Linked DNA regions of Homo sapiens: all the other regions are linked to region 4. The links are contacts of gene promoters, found by promoter capture Hi-C in human tissues and cell types (Jung and others, 2019). All regions are on one chromosome and are shown on one strand. The core of a region is centred on a gene start or on the middle of the fragment in contact, and the rest is flanking DNA. Distances in the headings are between cores, read along the strand shown.

Region 1 (3,670 bases), core at 467-2,966, 160 kb before region 4:
TGTACCATTAGAAGGGTAAACAACTGATAAGCTTCAGTGTGCTATATCCGATAAATTACCTAAGATAGTCAACACTTTATTATGAAATATGAAATAGGCTTTGTGTTAGATGATATTGCCCAATTCTAGGCTCATGTAAGTGTTCTGTGTATGTTTAAGGTTGTCAAGGCTAAGCTGTGATATTCATTGGATAGGTTAGGTATATTAAACATATTTTTTTAAAAAAAATTTATTTCGATAAGTTTTGGGGGAACAGGTGGCTTTTGGTTACAAGAGTAAGTTCTTCAGTGGTGACTTGTAGGATTTTGGTGCACCTATCACCCGAGCAGTATACACTGAACCCAATTTGTAGTCTTTTATCCCTCACCCCCCCACACACTTTCCCCTGAGTCCCCAAAGTTCGTTGTATCATTCTTATGCCTTTGCATCCTCATAACTTAGCTCCCATTTATGAATGACAACATGTGAGGTTTGGTTTTTCATTCTTGAGTTACTTTACTTAGAATAATAGTCTCCAATTCCATTTAGGTTGCTGTGAATGCCATTAATTCGTTCCTTTTTATGGCTGAGTAGTATTCCATCATATATATATAGCACAGTTTCTTTATCCACTCGTTGATTGATGGGCATTAGGGCTGGTTCCATATTTTTGCAATTGTGAATTGTGCTAGTATAAATATGCATGTGCACGTATCTTTTTTGTATAGTGACTTCTTTTCCTCTGGGTAGATACCCAGTAGTGGGATTGCTGGATCAAATGGTAGTTCTACTTTTAGTTATTTAAGGAATCTCCACACTGTTTTCCATAACGGTTGTACTAGTTTACATTCCCACCAACAGTGTAGAAGTGTTCTCTTTAAATGTATTTTTGACTAACACTATTTTCAACTGACAATGGGTTTATCAGGCCGTAACACCACTGTAAGTCGAGGAGCATCTGTACTTACTGGGTGTATACATGTGCCAGGCTATACCCTCATAGAGCTTACAGTCTACCATAGATGAAAAACCACAAATAAATATGATACATTCAGGTGGTGACAGTAATTATTTTAAACACAGGATAATGGAATGTAATAAACAGGAGGATGAGGAGGGTTACTTCAGATAGGGTGATCAGGGAAAAGAACTCTGGAAAAGTGACATGTGCATTGAAAGGACTCCACCTTTCCTCTGAGGGAAGAGTGGCCCAGGTGAAGTATATGATAAGTGCAAAGGCCGTGGGGCAGAAACTAGCCTGATGTGAGCAGAAAGAAGGCCTGTGTGGCTAGAGCAGAGAGGTAAGGGGACACTGGTGCTAGATAGGGTTGAAGGGGAAGGGTGGGCCTATCAAGTACACCAGAGGAATTAGTTTGGATTTTGCACTAAATTCAATGGAAGTATTGGAGGGTTTTAGGCATAGGAGGGATATCTAATTAATATTTATTAAAAATCTCTTTGACTGCTGTGTGGAGACTAGAATAACTAGAGGGATGCAGGAGGGTGATGGCTATTCTAGTAGAAATAATAGAGATTTGTACAAAGATAGAAGAAAGATTGTCATGATTTTTTTTACCAGCCTTTCCCTACATGTAATAATCTCCTTTCTATGTATATTAAGTTCATTTACTTTTAAACTTGGACTGTGTCTTGTATTTTGTTCTATTACTTACAAACCCAAGCCAGACTAGAACCAAGGCAGGTACTTAGATACGTGACCAATTAACTCTGTTTAATTAATTAATTTTTTTTTTCTTTTTGAGACTGAGTCTCAGTCTATCATCCAAGCTGGAGTGCAGTGGCGTGATCTTGCCTCACTGCAACCTCTGCCTCCCAGGTTCAAGTGATCCTTGTGCCTCAGCCTCCCGAGTAGCTGGGATTATAGGTGCCTGCCACCTCGCCTGGCTAAGTTTCGTATTTTTAGTAGAGATGGGGTTTCACCATGCTGGCCAGGCCTGTCTCAAACTCCTGACCTCAAGTGATCTGCCTTCCTGGACTTCCCAAAGTGCTGGGATTACAGGCGTGAGCCAATGTGCCCGGCTAACTCTGTTTAATTTTAAATTTCTATGTATTTAGATTAGGCATCTGGTAAACCACCCCTCCCCCAAACTGTAAGTTAAATTTGGAATGCACCTTTGAAGTCTTTGGGTCTAAGTCTACATTTCAATTTGCCACCTACTAAATCTTTGCATACCAACCTTCTTCTAGACTGATTCACAACAGAAATGCCCATGCCATTGGCACCAGTGTGAAGCAGTGTCTGCCTACTTGCAGATGTATGATTACCTGATAAAATAAACCCTGTCTTGTATAAGACATTCTCCTCTGGTCTCTGTACCTTGCAGCCACTCACAATCCTAACTGATATAATTGATCACTTGAACATTGTTCAGACATGCCTATACCTTCTTCCACTCTGTGAAACAGTCAATGACATATGGTGGTAGGTTCTGGGGCTCTGCCAGACACCCTTCCAAGGATTTCACACATTTACAAGGCAGCAGGTGACACCTGGGAAGTCTCCGGGCATTTTCAATGCCTCCTCTTCAACAATTTCCTCACTCACTGTCAGATCTCACATCTCACCAGCAAAGCTTATTATTCCAGGTGGCTAAACTCCTCCAGGTGAAGTGAGAATATCCTGACCTTTCTCTGTGAAGCGTCACTCTTTTTGTAAGCTCAAACAGTGTTGCTAATGGATGATGAGATGATCTACCGTGCACTTTGGTTCCTATAGGTTTCTTAGGTTTATTTGAACAAGTCTTTTCTCTGCCCCTGGTAGTTGGCTGGGTCGAGGAAAGGCAAGCCAAATAAAACCTCTGACAAACTTAAAGTTTCCTCTTTAGCTAGAGGGTACTTTTAGGGTAAGGGACTATTTGATTCTTTAGTATAAGATTTTTAGAAACAGAGGACTTTAGAGTCAGAAGAGCTCTTACACATCATCCAGTCATTTGGCAGAAGAAAAATGGGGAGCAGAAAGTTTAATTCCCTCTGACATTGGAACTATGCACTATTCTGAGTACCAAGGCAAGGCAATCTCATGTGCATAAAATATTATTTTACACTAGGCACTATAGTAGGTTTTATACACAAATTAATTTTATTTCTTCCTCCCAACAATTTTAGAAAACAAATGCTGATATCACTGTATTGCACAAGGGATAACTGAAGCCCAGAGTTTCAAAATCTTTAGACAATGTGGTAGCTTGCATTGTTATTTTCCATTTTCACCTCCTTCTCCCCATATTGGTATTTATCACTACCACATAGATGTTGGTCTTGGCAATTTGACTTGCTTTGACCAATGGAACATGAGCAAACACAGCATAGGTCACATCCATCCAAGTAAAGGCTTTTAATATGATTGCATGATTCAACTTGGTTTATTGTTCCTGTGCCCTCTGTTATGAGAAGTCATGTCCCAAAAGCTGCTTCTCCATTAACTTGGGTCTTGCAGTAAGAAATGAATCTGAGCCCACCAATGCCTGAGGAAGAGCTACAACTGACCTGTAGCCAACACTATGTAATATGAGAAAGAAAGAAATATTTTGTAAGCCATTGAGAGTTGGAATCTATTTGTTACACAGCATGGCCTAGTGAAAGGTAATGAACACAAATGGACAGAGCCGGGATCTATATCCAGACCTATCTGCTTCCAAATGCCATATCCTTTTCCCCACCAAACAGTCCT
Region 2 (3,588 bases), core at 893-3,392, 190 kb before region 4:
TATCTCGAGTTATTATATGTGAAAGTCTGTGCAGTTGGGTTGGTTTTTCTAACCAAAAAAAAAAAAAGGGGGAAAAAAGAGGAAGAAAAGAAAGAACAGAAAAGAAAAAATTTAAAAAGAAAACCTTTAAATCCACAAAATTTTTTTTTCTCATACCAAAAATGTAAGGGACCTGAACTACAACTTTAGAAATAGATATTTAATTTTTTAGAAAGTACCAATGTTTCATCAACACACACACACACACACACACACACACACACACACACATTTCTAACCAATGTTTCAACACACACACACACACACACATTTCTAACCAATGTTTCAACACACACACACACATTTCTAACCAATGTTTCAACACAAATACACACACACACATTTCTAACCAATGTTTCAACACACACACACACAAACACACACATTCACATTTCTAAAGGCTTGTTGAGTAAAAAAATGCCAGCTACCAAATCACTTAGGTAATTCTGTGAGCAGAAAAACAAAAAAAAAACAAAAAACAACAAAAAACAACATGGGTTTGAACCAAATGAAATATTGGCCCTGTTTAGGTTCAGCTGGCAGCATATTTAAATACAGAGATTTTGATCTGGTTCAATAGGTTTAGAAAATTAGCATGGTGAACTCTAGGTTTTAGTTCACATTGGAGGTTGAGTCCCAAGAGAGAAAATGATGGTCTTTTCTAATTTGCGTCTTTAAGCCAGTTTGTTTAAAGTTTCCCTTTACTTACTTTTTGTTCAGCAATATTAGGTTGGCATGGTGGTCTCACAAATAACAGCATATCTCCAGTGAAGCGGAGTTTCTTTGCTTAAAACTTGTGGGTATTTCTTGGGCATTTTCTCATGAGCAGAGTGTGATGGACAGGACCCATGTGGAGTCGCACAGGCCAGGGTTGACCAGAAGACCATTGGCAGTGCAGTCTCATTCTCTTTCAGATTCCCTCCAAGAACTGTTTTTCCTTCTTGCTTCAGCAAATGAATTTGGAGCTTCCCAGAACTCAGAAGGTTCAAGACGAGATGCTCAGTGCTCCAGAAAATGCAAGATGCTTTCCTTAACTCAGACAATGCAAATTCTCAATCTATTGGCTGATGCTGACCTTTCCATGTTTTAGGAATAAAGTGTCTGAAAACAAAATGAGAATATGTACAAAAAAGCAACAACAAAAAACTTCAGGGAGTATAAAATATCCAAGAGAACAAACTGTTTTAAGCACTATAGAACTCTTCAGAAACACCTATATATTCAGTGTACAATTACAAATAATTCATAGGTGGTTTCTGAAATATTTTAAGTTCCAGGATACATGTGCAGGATGTGCAGGTTTGTTACATAGGTAAACGTGTGCCATGGTGGTTTGCTGCACCTATCAACCCATCACCTAGGTGTTAAGCCTCACGTGCATTAGCTATTAGCTATTTATTTTTAAAGTTTAAAATTTTTTTTTAAATAGGTAAACCCTCTCCCACCACCACCACTCCCCAAATATACCCCGCACATCCAAAATGTATTTACAAAGCAGGAGGGGTGTCTATCCTGGTTTGATCATACACTCAGCCTAATATCCTAAAATTGCTGTAAGTACAGACCTTTAAATTCAGCCATGTAGGAACTTCAAGCTTTGCGTGGCTACAGTTCCTTGATTTTGCAGTTGAGTGAACTGAAATTCAGAGAAGTCAGGTGAAGCGACTTACCTAAGGTCACATGGTTCATGATTTATGAGGGCAGGATCAAAGCTTAAATCTCCTGTTCTTGAGTCAGAGCATAAAAGGAATCAAAGCTCATAACAGTGTTCCTGAAGCCTCACAACAATGCAAATCATACCAGGACAACTGACCTTTAGCCATCCTCCAGTCCTTACTAGGCCAGAAAGAGAACCTGGATGTTCTGGAAAGATGTTGAGTAATCCCAGGATTGGAACAAAAGCATTTTCTGCTTGACCCTTAATACTTTTAATACTCTGAAATACTCTTAATGTTCTGAAACAACTCAATTTCTCCAAGTATTTATAGCTGTTTTGCATTGTGTGGGGAACCCTTACATTCTAGGTACCCCACTTTTCCATATCAATCAGAAGGGTCTTTGTTAACACACGCTTAAGCTAGGGTTTTTCTAAGCTTTCCTATGAGAGTCCCGCGCAACTGAAACTTGCTTTTCATTACAGTTTGGGGGTCTTGACATTTAGGACACCACTGTCTATCATGGGATGATTAATTAATATTTTGCCATCTCTCTGATTCCATGAGCAGAACATCATTGTTCAGCTTCCAGTCTTTCTTTATGCCAACAACAGCAAACCCTGACTCTAGGTTGACAAAGAAGAGAAAATTTGTAAACATCCTGGGATTAATTACTACTGGGATCTGTCTGCCCATCCACGCTAATAAAGTATGAGACTTCCCCCTATTTATCATCTTTATTTCCTCAGAGACATCAGAAAACAGCCCTCCCTAACAAAATGGAATGAATCTGATTAATGCAGGAGCTCAGCAGCCCGAATCCTTCATCACACCATCAGAAACAAAAAAGGAGGGGGGCATCCAATACAAAGTGCCTGCATAACCTTTTGTCTCTCATAGCCCCCTGTCACCAGCCAGATTAGCATCGGAGGCAGGGAGCGTAAAGGCCTGACATTCGGCTCTGTGTTTTAGCTGAAACTAATTTCCTTTCCAGCATTCGAGGCCCTGGCCACTGGACCTTCCTGGCAGGTCTGGTTCTTTTGCCAAGGAACGAATGTCAAGGGCTTTCTTGTCTTAGAAAGGAACGCACTGTTTCACTGGCCTGCAGCAGGTTGCAGGGGACCCAAACACCAGGTCAGAGCCCCGTATGTGCTGGCTGTCCCCTTGAGCAGGTCTTTGCATTCTTTTGAAAGAGAAGGGGACAGCAGGGTTAAGGGAACAGATTCTTGAGAAAGAAGGAGAAAGACAGGAGTCAGCAAAAATAAGCCATAAACTCTGGTAAACATTAGGTCCCTAAGGACCTAAAACGGCCTTTAAGCCCCTGCATGGTTGATCTGTGTCCTTTTCCAGCTTCCCCTCCTTTCACATATCCTAACATCCTGTGCCCCAAACACACTGACCTTATTTCAGAGCCAAGCTCCATCCTTCCACAAGACTTTTGCACAGGGCTGTCCTCACCTCTTCAACGTCACCCATCCCACTACCACCCCTCTCCCCTTTATCTAGCTAACTCCACCAAACTCTTAGGTCTTAGTTCAAAGATCACTTCCTCAGGTTGTCTTCCCTGAACTTTTAGGCTAGGTCAGGCCCACCTGGGTAACAATTCAGAACACCTGCTTCCATTGGGATTTTACATTTATTAGCGGGGTCGTTTGAATCATGTCTGTTCCTTTTACAAGACTGTAGTCTCCATGAAGCTAACTCTTACATCTTGTTTCCATGGTATCTGCAGAACCCAGGCCTCTTCATGGTATGGAGGAGACACGACTATGCAGGAATCATGAACAGCATTTTTACCAAGAAGAAAACTAAGTCCACTTGGCTTCTAATACAATGTTTTTATAATGCTTATAACCAGGTAGTCCAGAGGACCCAGATTTTAATCTTGACTCTC
Region 3 (3,547 bases), core at 877-3,376, 220 kb before region 4:
TAATATCCAGAATCTATAAGGAACTCAAACAAATCAGCAAGAAAAAAACAAACAATTCCATCAAAAAGTGGGCTAAGGACATGAACGGACAATTCTCAAAAGAAGATATGCAAATGGCCAACAAACATATGAAAAAATGCTCAACATCATTAATGATCAGAGAAATGCAAATCAAAACCACAATGCGATACCACCTTACTCCTGCAAGAATGGCCATAATCAAAAAATCAAAAAATAATAGATGTCAGCATGGATGTGGTGAAAAGAGAACACTTTTACACTGTTGGTGGGAGTGTAAACTATGTACAACCACTATGGAAAACAGTGTGGAGATTCCTTAAAGAACCAAAAGTAGATCTACCATTTGATCCACCAATCCCACTACTGGGTATCTACTCAGAGGAAAAGAAGTCATTATATGAAAAAGATACTTGCACACACATGTTTATAGCAGCACAACTCACAACTTCAAAAATGTGGAACCAGCCCAAATGCCCATCAATCAACAAGTGGATAAACAAAATGGTGTGTGTATGTATATATATATATATATATATATATATATATATACACCCACACCATGGAATACTACTCAGCCATAAAAAGGAAAAAAATAATGGCATTCGCAGCAACCTGGATGAAATTGGAGACAGTTATTCTAAGTGAAGTAACTCAGGAATGGAAAACCAAACATCATATGTTCTCTTTCATAAGTGGGATGCAAAGGCATAGGCATGATACAATGGATTTGGGGGACTTGGGGGAAAAGGTGGGAGGGGGTGAGGGATAAAAGATTATACACTGGGTACAGTGTACACTGCTCAGGTGATGGGTGGACCAAAATCTCAGAAATCACCACTGAAGAATGTATTCATATAACCAAACACCATCTGTTCTCCAAAAACCTATTGAAATATTTTAAAGGAGAAAAAAACCTCTCATGTACCCCATAAATATATATACCTGCTTTGTACCCACAAAATTAAAAATTAAAAAAAGATATTCAAGCTTGACTCTGGCATCTAAGTTTCATTTATTCTCCAAGTTTCATGCCTCTCATAAAGGCATCCCATGTCTGTTTGATTAATGTTGAGTGGAGGGGCTAATAATAACAGTTCTTGGTGTGTCTCAAAACATCACTCTTCAGCTGCTTCCAGTTAGATTATAAACAACAGAACTGGTTGGCATTTTAGAATGAGAAAAAGTTCAAGGTAAATGTAAACTCACACACACATACATTAAAGTGATACTATATCTTCTCTTTTTTTTTCTATTTTTGATAGACTTGGTAAAACTGCTCCTACCCAAATTTAACAAATTTCAATCAAGACATAAGCAATTCTCTAACAAAGAAGGGAAAGAACTTTGACCTATCTTAACTAAATCCATCATAGCTCCAAAATAGAATATTTTTCTTTGCCCAACATGGCAAGTTTCAGGGAGCACCAGGGCCCCGGAAAACAATCTACTTGGGTGAAGCAGAAACAGTTTGTTTCATGTCAACAGTTTGCTTAGCTTGCTGTAGGAAGAATTCAGAGGCATACATGGATTGGGAGAAATGTGTCCCGCCTCCCATGGGAATGCAGATATGCAGAGCGGAGAATGTAACTCCACATATTAAAACAAGCTCCTCCTGGTATTTGGGAATCTGCCTCTTGCTGCTTAATACAGACTCTGTTCTCACACCCCAGGCTGGGACCTTCATCTGGGATGCCAAGGGACAGGACCTTTGTGGGACATTTGAGTCCTATTGTAGGAGGTTAGTCGAGAAAGTTCATTTTTCTGGTTTTGCAAGAACACATGGGACTAAAGGCTAGGCTGGTTGTTTGGACAGACCCCATCAGTTTTGTTCTTTGGCCCCCAGCTGCCTGAAGAGGCTTTTGAAAGCATCATCTCTGGGACTCAGCAAACGAGAAGCACAAGTGATGTCTTGCTTCCTGTTAGTTGGCCTGAAACCACCCTGCTGTCTTCCAGTTGACCCTGCTTGTCTCTCCAGCCAAGATTGTTCCTTACTTTTCCAACAACATCATGTGTCTTCTATCCCTCTTTTTCAGTCCTACAAGTGAGACAATACTTTTCCTGTGGTATGTGGAGGTCTCCAACATTGGAGCAACTGTATTAAGCACTTTGTTTACATCTACTATTGACTCATAAATACTCACAATAGTCCTAAAAGATAAGTGTTATTGTAACTTTCTTTTGCAAATGAGGACAGTGAGGTCAGATAAACCAGAGATCCATATTACAGGGGCAGAAGCGAGAATCCAACCCAGCTCTGGCTGACTCTCCAGACAGACTCTTACCAGCATGCTAACTGACCCTTTACCTCCTAGTGGGCAATTCCACAGACATTGACTGTGCTATATTGTGCTGGCCTTCTGGGGACATAATGAGAGATGGGACACTGTCCCTTAAGAAGCTTTCGGGCATTACTTGAAACACTGATTTGGAGCAAGGGGCTTGTATCCAGCTGAAAATTTCTTCCTGATCAAAAAAAAAAATGCTTCCACTCCTGAGTAGGATCCAGAGCCAGCCTTAAATGTGCTATGAATGCTTCTTGCCAAGCACCTGCAGATGCCTCCCCAAAGGCATGGCATGCCTTTGTTAGAGATGTGGGCCTTTGGGCAAAGGCACCTGTGACAGCACTCAGCACAGAGTCTTGGGAGTCTCCTGTGGCCTAAGCCAACTTTACCCTAGTCCCCAGAGAAGCAAACGCTGAGTCTACACAGACACACGGATGGAGGGTTTGCAACCAGCCTTGAAAAGGCATCTATTGAGTCCTGAGTATGATTTGGGGAACAATGTAGGGAGGGCAGAAAGGTCCCCAGTAAAAACATTGCCTCTGGGGAGGGTGGAATGAGAGTGACTGCTTCATAGGTATATTCTCCCTTGGGGGTGATGGAAATGTTGAGAATTAGAGCTGATGGTTGCACAACATTGCGAATGTATTAAACCGCCACCAAAATGCACACTTTAAGAGGGTTAATTTTATATGATATTAGTTTTACCTTGATTTTTAAAAAAAGTTAAAGAAAGTCACCTCTGCCGAGTGCCATAGTTCCTGAAGTGCTACTGTTCAGAATAGGACTATTCTCTCCCTCCACTTCCCTCCTGCCCCTGTTTTCACCTGGACCTTCTGTCTTGTCTGAAGCTGTGGGAGGGTCACTTTCAGGCCCCTTTTTGTCTCTTATGTGCTCTTCCCTCTAGGAAGAGGTACACCTTCTGAGGTTGGTGAGGCTCAGAAAAGAAAGAGGACCTTTTCATGTCTTTGATCTAAGGGTGTCCATGGACCTAGTTCTCAGCTCTGGATTGATATTGTTACCAAGTATAATAAATATGTGAAGAGACTGAGGCCTTCCCAACACTGCCTAGAGCCACCTCCTCCCTCACCAGCTGCTCCCTGAGTCACTGATCACCAGATCCAAGGGTACCTCTCTCTAAACATGTTCATGATCTTGCTTGCAGGAGTAAGTTGGCCTTTGTTTCTCTATGTAGGGCTTTTCTTTAGGAAACATCCTACCTACTTTCTTGTCCACCTTGAAATTCT
Region 4 (3,370 bases), core at 420-2,919:
AAGAGCAGAAGGTGAGAAACCCAAGATGCAGGCTTGTGAACTGGAGTAAAAGAAGGTATCAGGCTTTACTTTTCAATCTCCAGCTGCCACTGCCCATTGCTCTGCCATATATTTGCTAGCCTATGACCTCAGGAATCAACTGACTCTCTCTGAACCACTGTTTCTCATCTCTCAATGAACAATGGTTATGCTTCTCTCAAAGAATTGTAAAGTCTCAAAGAAACTGAGTAAATGCATGGCTATCAGTAAGCGCTCAATTCATGGGAGTCCCTGCCCAGCACCAGTGGCTCAGGCCCCAAAATTAACTACTCAAAAGGCAGCTCCATCTATAACAGTGGTTCCATCCCCTACCTTGCCCCGGGGGAAAAGTATGACACAGTAGCTGAGTACCCAACTTTGGGAGAGACCCCACAGTTGAGTTCAGTTCCCAGCAGCTCTCCTCCATGCCTTTGTGAACTTGGGCGAACAGCTAAACTTCCCCATAATTTGGTGTCTCATCCATGAAATAGAAATGGTGAAGAGTGTATTCTTTCTCTCATGAGAGTCATGAGAAAATGCAAAAAGAACTCAGCACACTGTCTAGGACAAAATAAATGTTGGATAAATGTGAACTAACATAAAGTTCTTTGGCTTTTTCTTTCTTTCTTTCTTGGCCCATACTTTCTCTTCTAAGTACCATTCACCCACCTTTGGGAGTGCGTCCCTGTGACTGAATGTCCAACATGGATATCAGACAGAAAGGAAAAAACTCAACAAATAACCAAGATCCTCTACGTCCCTTCCCCAGGTCTCTGACCTCCCTCACCCCCACTCCCAGATAGCCAGCTAGCTTCCTCCCTCAATTCCCTTCATGTTTCCTCAAATATCACTTCAGTGACATCCCAAGCACCCACTTAACATTTCAAATCCACCCCACAAACACCCCACTGCATTTCCCCCTCCTTACTTTATTTTCAGCCTAACACCTGTCATCACATTACACACCTCATCATTTGCTTATTTAGTATACTGTCTGTCTTCTGTCGGGAGAAGCTACGCTCCTATAGGGCAGGAGTCCGTCTATTTTGTTCAGTTGCTATGTTCACAGCGCCCAGAGCCAGGGCAGAGAGTGGAGACTCCGTAAGAATCGGCTGAATAAATGAGTGAATGCCTGAGCGAATGAAAGGATGAAGAGAAGCCAGATTTTACTGGGGCCAAAGAGTTTGCACGGGGCGAGGGGAGCCAGATGAAGGATGAGGGCTGGCCTCAGATCCGACTCAAGTCCCTCCCACCTGCCCAATCCTAGAATTCTCTTTCCCTCTTTTAGGTGCTGGACAAGTTGCATATCCCGTTAAATCCGGGGCCCACTCCGGGAGCCCCCTATTAAAGGTAAGCAGCCCCCAACCCACCTTTGACACGGAAGAGTGACTAGCGGGGAAAATAACCCCAGCGGGCCGCCTAGGGGTGGGTGACCCGCGATCTCCACGCCCAGGTCCCGCCCTCGCGGCCCCTGCCCCCGCCCCGCCCCCCGCAGAGGGCGCGCCCTGGGAGCGGCGGGGGACGCGGCTGGCTTCCCGGCTTGCGGGGTGGCGGCGTCGGGGCTGCGGGCGCCTTGGCTGGACCCGCATTGCCCCCTAGTGCCGCGCGGAGTCAGGGCGCCGGGCTCCCCCGCCTGATGTCACCGCCGTGCAGTCAGCCCAGAAGCGGCTCATTGAAAGCAGACCCTCTTCGGCGCTCGCTGGGCGGAGGACGCGCCGCGGTCCGCAGACCCGAGCGAGCTGGGCACCGCCGGGCGCCCCCGGCCCTGCCGCCCCCTCCTCCCCGCCGCTCCCCCGCGAGCCCGGCCAGGCGCGCCTGACGTGGACCATTAAACTTGGAGCTGCCGCCTCGTCCCCTCTCCTCCTCCTCCTCCCTCTGACAGGCGAGCGAGCGACTCGGTGCAGGCAGGAGACGTGCTGCCGGGCTGGGCTGCCCGGGGGAGATGACTCCTCGCCAGGAGGGCGCCTCTGGGAAGAAGACCACGGGGGAAGCAAAGTTTCAGGGCAGCTGAGGAGCCTTCGCCGCAGCCCTTCCGAGCCCAATCATCCCCCTGGCTATGGAGGGCGGACTCTAAGATGAATCCCGACCTGGACACCGGCCACAACACATCAGCACCTGCCCACTGGGGAGAGTTGAAAAATGCCAACTTCACTGGCCCCAACCAGACCTCGAGCAACTCCACACTGCCCCAGCTGGACATCACCAGGGCCATCTCTGTGGGCCTGGTGCTGGGCGCCTTCATCCTCTTTGCCATCGTGGGCAACATCCTAGTCATCTTGTCTGTGGCCTGCAACCGGCACCTGCGGACGCCCACCAACTACTTCATTGTCAACCTGGCCATGGCCGACCTGCTGTTGAGCTTCACCGTCCTGCCCTTCTCAGCGGCCCTAGAGGTGCTCGGCTACTGGGTGCTGGGGCGGATCTTCTGTGACATCTGGGCAGCCGTGGATGTCCTGTGCTGCACAGCGTCCATTCTGAGCCTGTGCGCCATCTCCATCGATCGCTACATCGGGGTGCGCTACTCTCTGCAGTATCCCACGCTGGTCACCCGGAGGAAGGCCATCTTGGCGCTGCTCAGTGTCTGGGTCTTGTCCACCGTCATCTCCATCGGGCCTCTCCTTGGGTGGAAGGAGCCGGCACCCAACGATGACAAGGAGTGCGGGGTCACCGAAGAACCCTTCTATGCCCTCTTCTCCTCTCTGGGCTCCTTCTACATCCCTCTGGCGGTCATTCTAGTCATGTACTGCCGTGTCTATATAGTGGCCAAGAGAACCACCAAGAACCTAGAGGCAGGAGTCATGAAGGAGATGTCCAACTCCAAGGAGCTGACCCTGAGGATCCATTCCAAGAACTTTCACGAGGACACCCTTAGCAGTACCAAGGCCAAGGGCCACAACCCCAGGAGTTCCATAGCTGTCAAACTTTTTAAGTTCTCCAGGGAAAAGAAAGCAGCTAAGACGTTGGGCATTGTGGTCGGTATGTTCATCTTGTGCTGGCTACCCTTCTTCATCGCTCTACCGCTTGGTAAGTTGGGGACTAGCAGCAGGGGGACTGGGCATTTTTGGACCTTGGGTTTACTGATGAGCTTACTCTAAAGTTTTTTGTGGGTTTTGTTTCTTATGCAGTCTGTGCGTGTTCGGAGATTGAATAATATTGTTTGTTCTGCAAAGGGTTTGCAGATTGGGGAGCTGGCTAAAAACCAACTCAGGTGTTAGTAGAACACGCTAAGGCACTAGCTTCTGGAAATAGAACCAGGGAAGGAAAATCTGGTATGAGGAATGACTCACTCAACAGCCTCGGTTTAATAATTAAAAAGGATATTCACTGGGCTTGAATATCACACCGGCGTTAT
Region 5 (3,512 bases), core at 46-2,545, 240 kb before region 4:
GGGACTCCATTGTCTTTTCCCTTGCCATGATCAACTTGGCAAGGGAAAGGAAACAAGATCCAGAAGTAACAAATGTCTCTTCTCATCACTTCTGCTCCCATCGTTGACAAAAGCCAATAACACGGTTTCACCTAGCTTCAAAGGAGGTGGTGAAGTATAATTCTGCCTGTACCTGAGAGGAGAACTAGAAATGTTTGGTGCACAGCAATAATGGCTACTGTGTAGTCCTGAGATACTTCTTCATCTCTTAGATCCTTTTATCTCTGTTCTTTCCAAGTTGGGTTGGAGAACAAAGGGAAGTAAGAGAAGAGGTGAAGGGCATTCTTTTGTTCTTCATTTCTTGTTTGCAGTACCCAGTCTCCCAGGCTTCTATGCTCTTCTAGATTATTCTCTATAAAAATACAGAAGTTGGGGAGGCTAGGTACTGCAAATACCTTCCCTCCAAATTCCTCACTTTAAAAAATTATGATGAGTAATTCTACTGTGGCACACAGTGTCATTGGTCACAAGTTTTCATACCAAAGCTATCACTGGCCTCAGCTAATAAACTTTCTGCTATCAGATTCCACCTTCCTCAGAAAGGTGTGTCGGTGTTTATTTTCTCTCTCTCTCTCTCTGTCTCTCTCTCTGTGTGTGTGTGTGTGTGTGTGTGTGTGTGTGTGTGTGTGTGAAGCAATAAAATAAAACTATTTTTCAAATATCCAGATAGTTATTGATAAAGTAGGAATTTCTCTGAATTTTATCTTGGAAAAGCTTTAAGTAGAGAAAAGAGTTCAGTTTCAAAGTCAAGAACATGAGATTTAATATTGAATTCAAATTTGGCTCCTTCACTCATCAATTGTGTGACCTTAAGACAAATTTTTAATCCTTGTAAGCTTCAATTTCTAATCTGTAATATGAGGGAATAATATTAACTTCTATCTCAACATAGAACATAGAGTTGTAATGAGGGTTTAATGAGCACAGTGCCAAGCATATAGTAAGCATTCAATAAATTCTGGCTCCTATAATAATAGTCTTTTCCTCTTCCAACGAAAAACTCCTTTTTAACCTTTGTGACCAGCACAGAAAACAATGAGATCATCACCATCTTGAATGTGGCCTTTTTTACTTTTATTAAATCACAAATATTCACTAGGGAATATTCATTCCCTAGAAATTCATTATTTGGTTAAAAGGGTCAGAAAACCAAACACAAAATGTCTTAAGCAAAAAGATAAAATTTACCTGATGTATATAAATGAAAGGCTTTAGGCACAGCTAGATCTAGTTGCTCAAATAACATCACCAGATTCAATATCTGTTGTCTTTATTTTCCCTTCTTTGGTTTTATTATCAAGCTTTCTTTCCTCTCATAGTGCTAAAAGGATTGCCAAGCAGCTCCGCAGTTTTATCTTATTCTCTCAATAACCATGCTGAATAGTCATAGTGAGATTTCCTTTTTTAAAACATAGCAAAAATCTCAGAATTTCATTTCATTGATTCTGCTGGGACCACCTGATCACCCTTGAAACAATCATGGTGGCCATGGGAATGTGGTGCACTGGTAGGGCAAACCTGGTCCTCTCCTGTACACCAAATTGGTAGTAGAGTCAGCAACGCTGGAATTATTTGTGTGGGGAGTGGTGAAGGCTTATATATCCAAACAAAAACAGGTTTCACTTACCAGAAAAAGAGTATAGGGATGGACACTGAGCAAGAAAAAACCGGGTGACTACTACACGTTTTATGAATATACACACTTTTGGAAACAGCAGGGTCCCACCATTGACTTAGAGCAAAAAATGCAGTATCTCCACTGGCACCCTCCCATTCCTTGCCCATAGCTAACACTGCTAATCATTCATAGCCCTCTTGTCCATGGAGTTCAGAAAATACTTCAGAATCCTCCTTCTTCATGTTTTCTTGTTTATTTTTTTATTTTACATTTGTCTTTAGGCTTCTAATCCACAAGCACAAGCTAGTTTATTTTGTAAGTTCAGCACATGCTGTTTATACTTCTTACACTTTATCTAGTCTCATTTGGTCTGTTGTCCTGGTCTGTTGAGATCTTAGGTGAGCACTCATAGTACCCGGTTTTAACTTCATATTGCTGACAGAGCCAGTGAAGAGACTGAAAAACAGTCCTGAATCTCTAATGCCACCCCGAGCAGCTGTGGTGGCATGGCATGGAGAGCATATCTGGTTGCTGGTGGAGAAAGAACACAACAATTGTGAGGCATTGAAATCACCGCCGTCCTGTTGGAGCACGAAGGAAAACTGGACCAAACTCAGCTGACACTTGTCCATGGAGGGAGCATTTAAAACCAGCCTTACCCAAAGGGGAATCTCCAATCCTAGTGGTCCAAACTTGAGTTCCCACAAACCTTGCCACCAAGGACTACAGTGCTCTGTGTCTCCAAGTAAACTTGAAAGGCAGTCTAGGCCATAAGGACTGCAACTCTTAGGTGAGTCCTAGTGCTGAACTAGGCCCAGAGACAGTTGACTGGGTGTTGGGGGCAGGGCGTGTGACATACTGAGACACTAGCTAGGGCAGCCAAGGGAGTGCTGGCATCACCCCTTCCCTAACCCCAGGCTGCACAGCTCTTGGCTCCAAAAAAGACCCCTTCCTTCTGCTTGAGAACAAGAGAGGAAAGAGTGGGAAGGACATTGTCTTGCATCTTGCATACCAGCTCAACCACAGCAGGATAGGGCACTGGTCGGGGTCATGAGGCCCCCATCGAAGCCCTAGCTCTCAGATAACATTTCTAGATATGACCTGGGCCAGAAGGGAACCCACTGCCTTGAAAGAAAGAACCCAGTCCTGGCAGCATTCATTACCCGCTAAGTGAAGAGCCCGTGGACCCTGAACAACCTTCCTCAAGCAGAAGGAAGGTGTCTCTTTTGGAGCCAAGAGCTGTGCAGCCTGACATTAGGGAAAGAGTGATGCCAGCACTCCCTTGGCTGCCCTAGCTGGTGTCTCAGTATGTCACATGCCCTACCCCCAACACCCAGTCAACTGTCTCTGGGCCTAGTTCAGATACCTAGGTACTACCTTGAAGGCCTCAGGTGAACCTCCAAGACTTGCTGGCTTCAGGTACCAGCATGGCCACAGTCGGGTAGAACACCAAGCATGCTCTTAGAGTGCCCAAGTCCAGGACTTGACTCTTGGATAGCATTTCTGGACCTGCCCTCGGCCAGAGGGGAGCCCACTGCCCTAAAGTTTGCATCTCAGGCCAGGCAGCATTCGCCACAGGCTGACTTAAGAGCTCTTAGGCCTTTAGGGAACATCAGCAGTGGTCTGGCAGTACTTGTTGTGGCCCGGAGTGGCAGTGGCTGCAGGGTGAGACTTCTCTGCCTTTGGAAAGAGGAGGGCAGAGTGGGAAGAACTGCATCTTGTGATTGAGTGCCAGCTTAGTCTCAGTACAATAGAACACCAGGTAGTCTTGTAAAGTTTTTGACTCTAATCTCTGACTTCCAGGTGGCACCTCTGGACCCACCCAGTGCCTGGGGAACCTTGTTTCCTTATGGGG

The links. The method cuts DNA at HindIII sites, captures the fragments that hold promoters and counts their contacts. A contact is called where the count stands out against the background at its distance.
Region 1: a fragment that was not itself captured here is called in contact with the fragment with the promoter of ADRA1B in region 4 in 1 of the 25 tissues and cell types used here (IMR-90 fibroblasts).
Region 2: a fragment that was not itself captured here is called in contact with the fragment with the promoter of ADRA1B in region 4 in 1 of the 25 tissues and cell types used here (thymus).
Region 3: a contact is called between a fragment that was not itself captured here and the fragment with the promoter of ADRA1B in region 4, in 1 of the 25 tissues and cell types used here (IMR-90 fibroblasts).
Region 5: a fragment that was not itself captured here is called in contact with the fragment with the promoter of ADRA1B in region 4 in 2 of the 25 tissues and cell types used here (IMR-90 fibroblasts and mesendoderm cells).

What each region holds. Positions count from the first base shown.
Region 1 is chr5:159,753,283-159,756,952 of GRCh38, forward strand. The region is part of intron 1 of LOC105377688 (a long non-coding RNA gene); the gene reads right to left. Among named protein-coding and RNA genes, the nearest start is that of LINC01847, 120 kb to the right of the region's middle. The HindIII fragment of the contact is 5,614 bases long and covers 1-3,670 here.
Region 2 is chr5:159,722,733-159,726,320 of GRCh38, forward strand. No RefSeq gene overlaps it. Among named protein-coding and RNA genes, the nearest start is that of LINC01847, 150 kb to the right of the region's middle. The HindIII fragment of the contact is 3,105 bases long and covers 591-3,588 here.
Region 3 is chr5:159,694,343-159,697,889 of GRCh38, forward strand. No RefSeq gene overlaps it. Among named protein-coding and RNA genes, the nearest start is that of LINC01847, 180 kb to the right of the region's middle. The HindIII fragment of the contact is 5,495 bases long and covers 1-3,547 here.
Region 4 is chr5:159,914,813-159,918,182 of GRCh38, forward strand. ADRA1B (adrenoceptor alpha 1B) reads left to right here and starts at 1,670. Exons shown (of 2, transcript NM_000679.4): 1 at 1,670-3,042. The coding sequence starts at 2,094. RefSeq lists a silencer at 1,504-1,563 and enhancers at 1,627-2,243, 2,244-2,860. The HindIII fragment of the contact is 5,190 bases long and covers 1-3,370 here.
Region 5 is chr5:159,674,111-159,677,622 of GRCh38, forward strand. No RefSeq gene overlaps it. Among named protein-coding and RNA genes, the nearest start is that of LINC01847, 200 kb to the right of the region's middle. The HindIII fragment of the contact is 4,205 bases long and covers 1-3,398 here.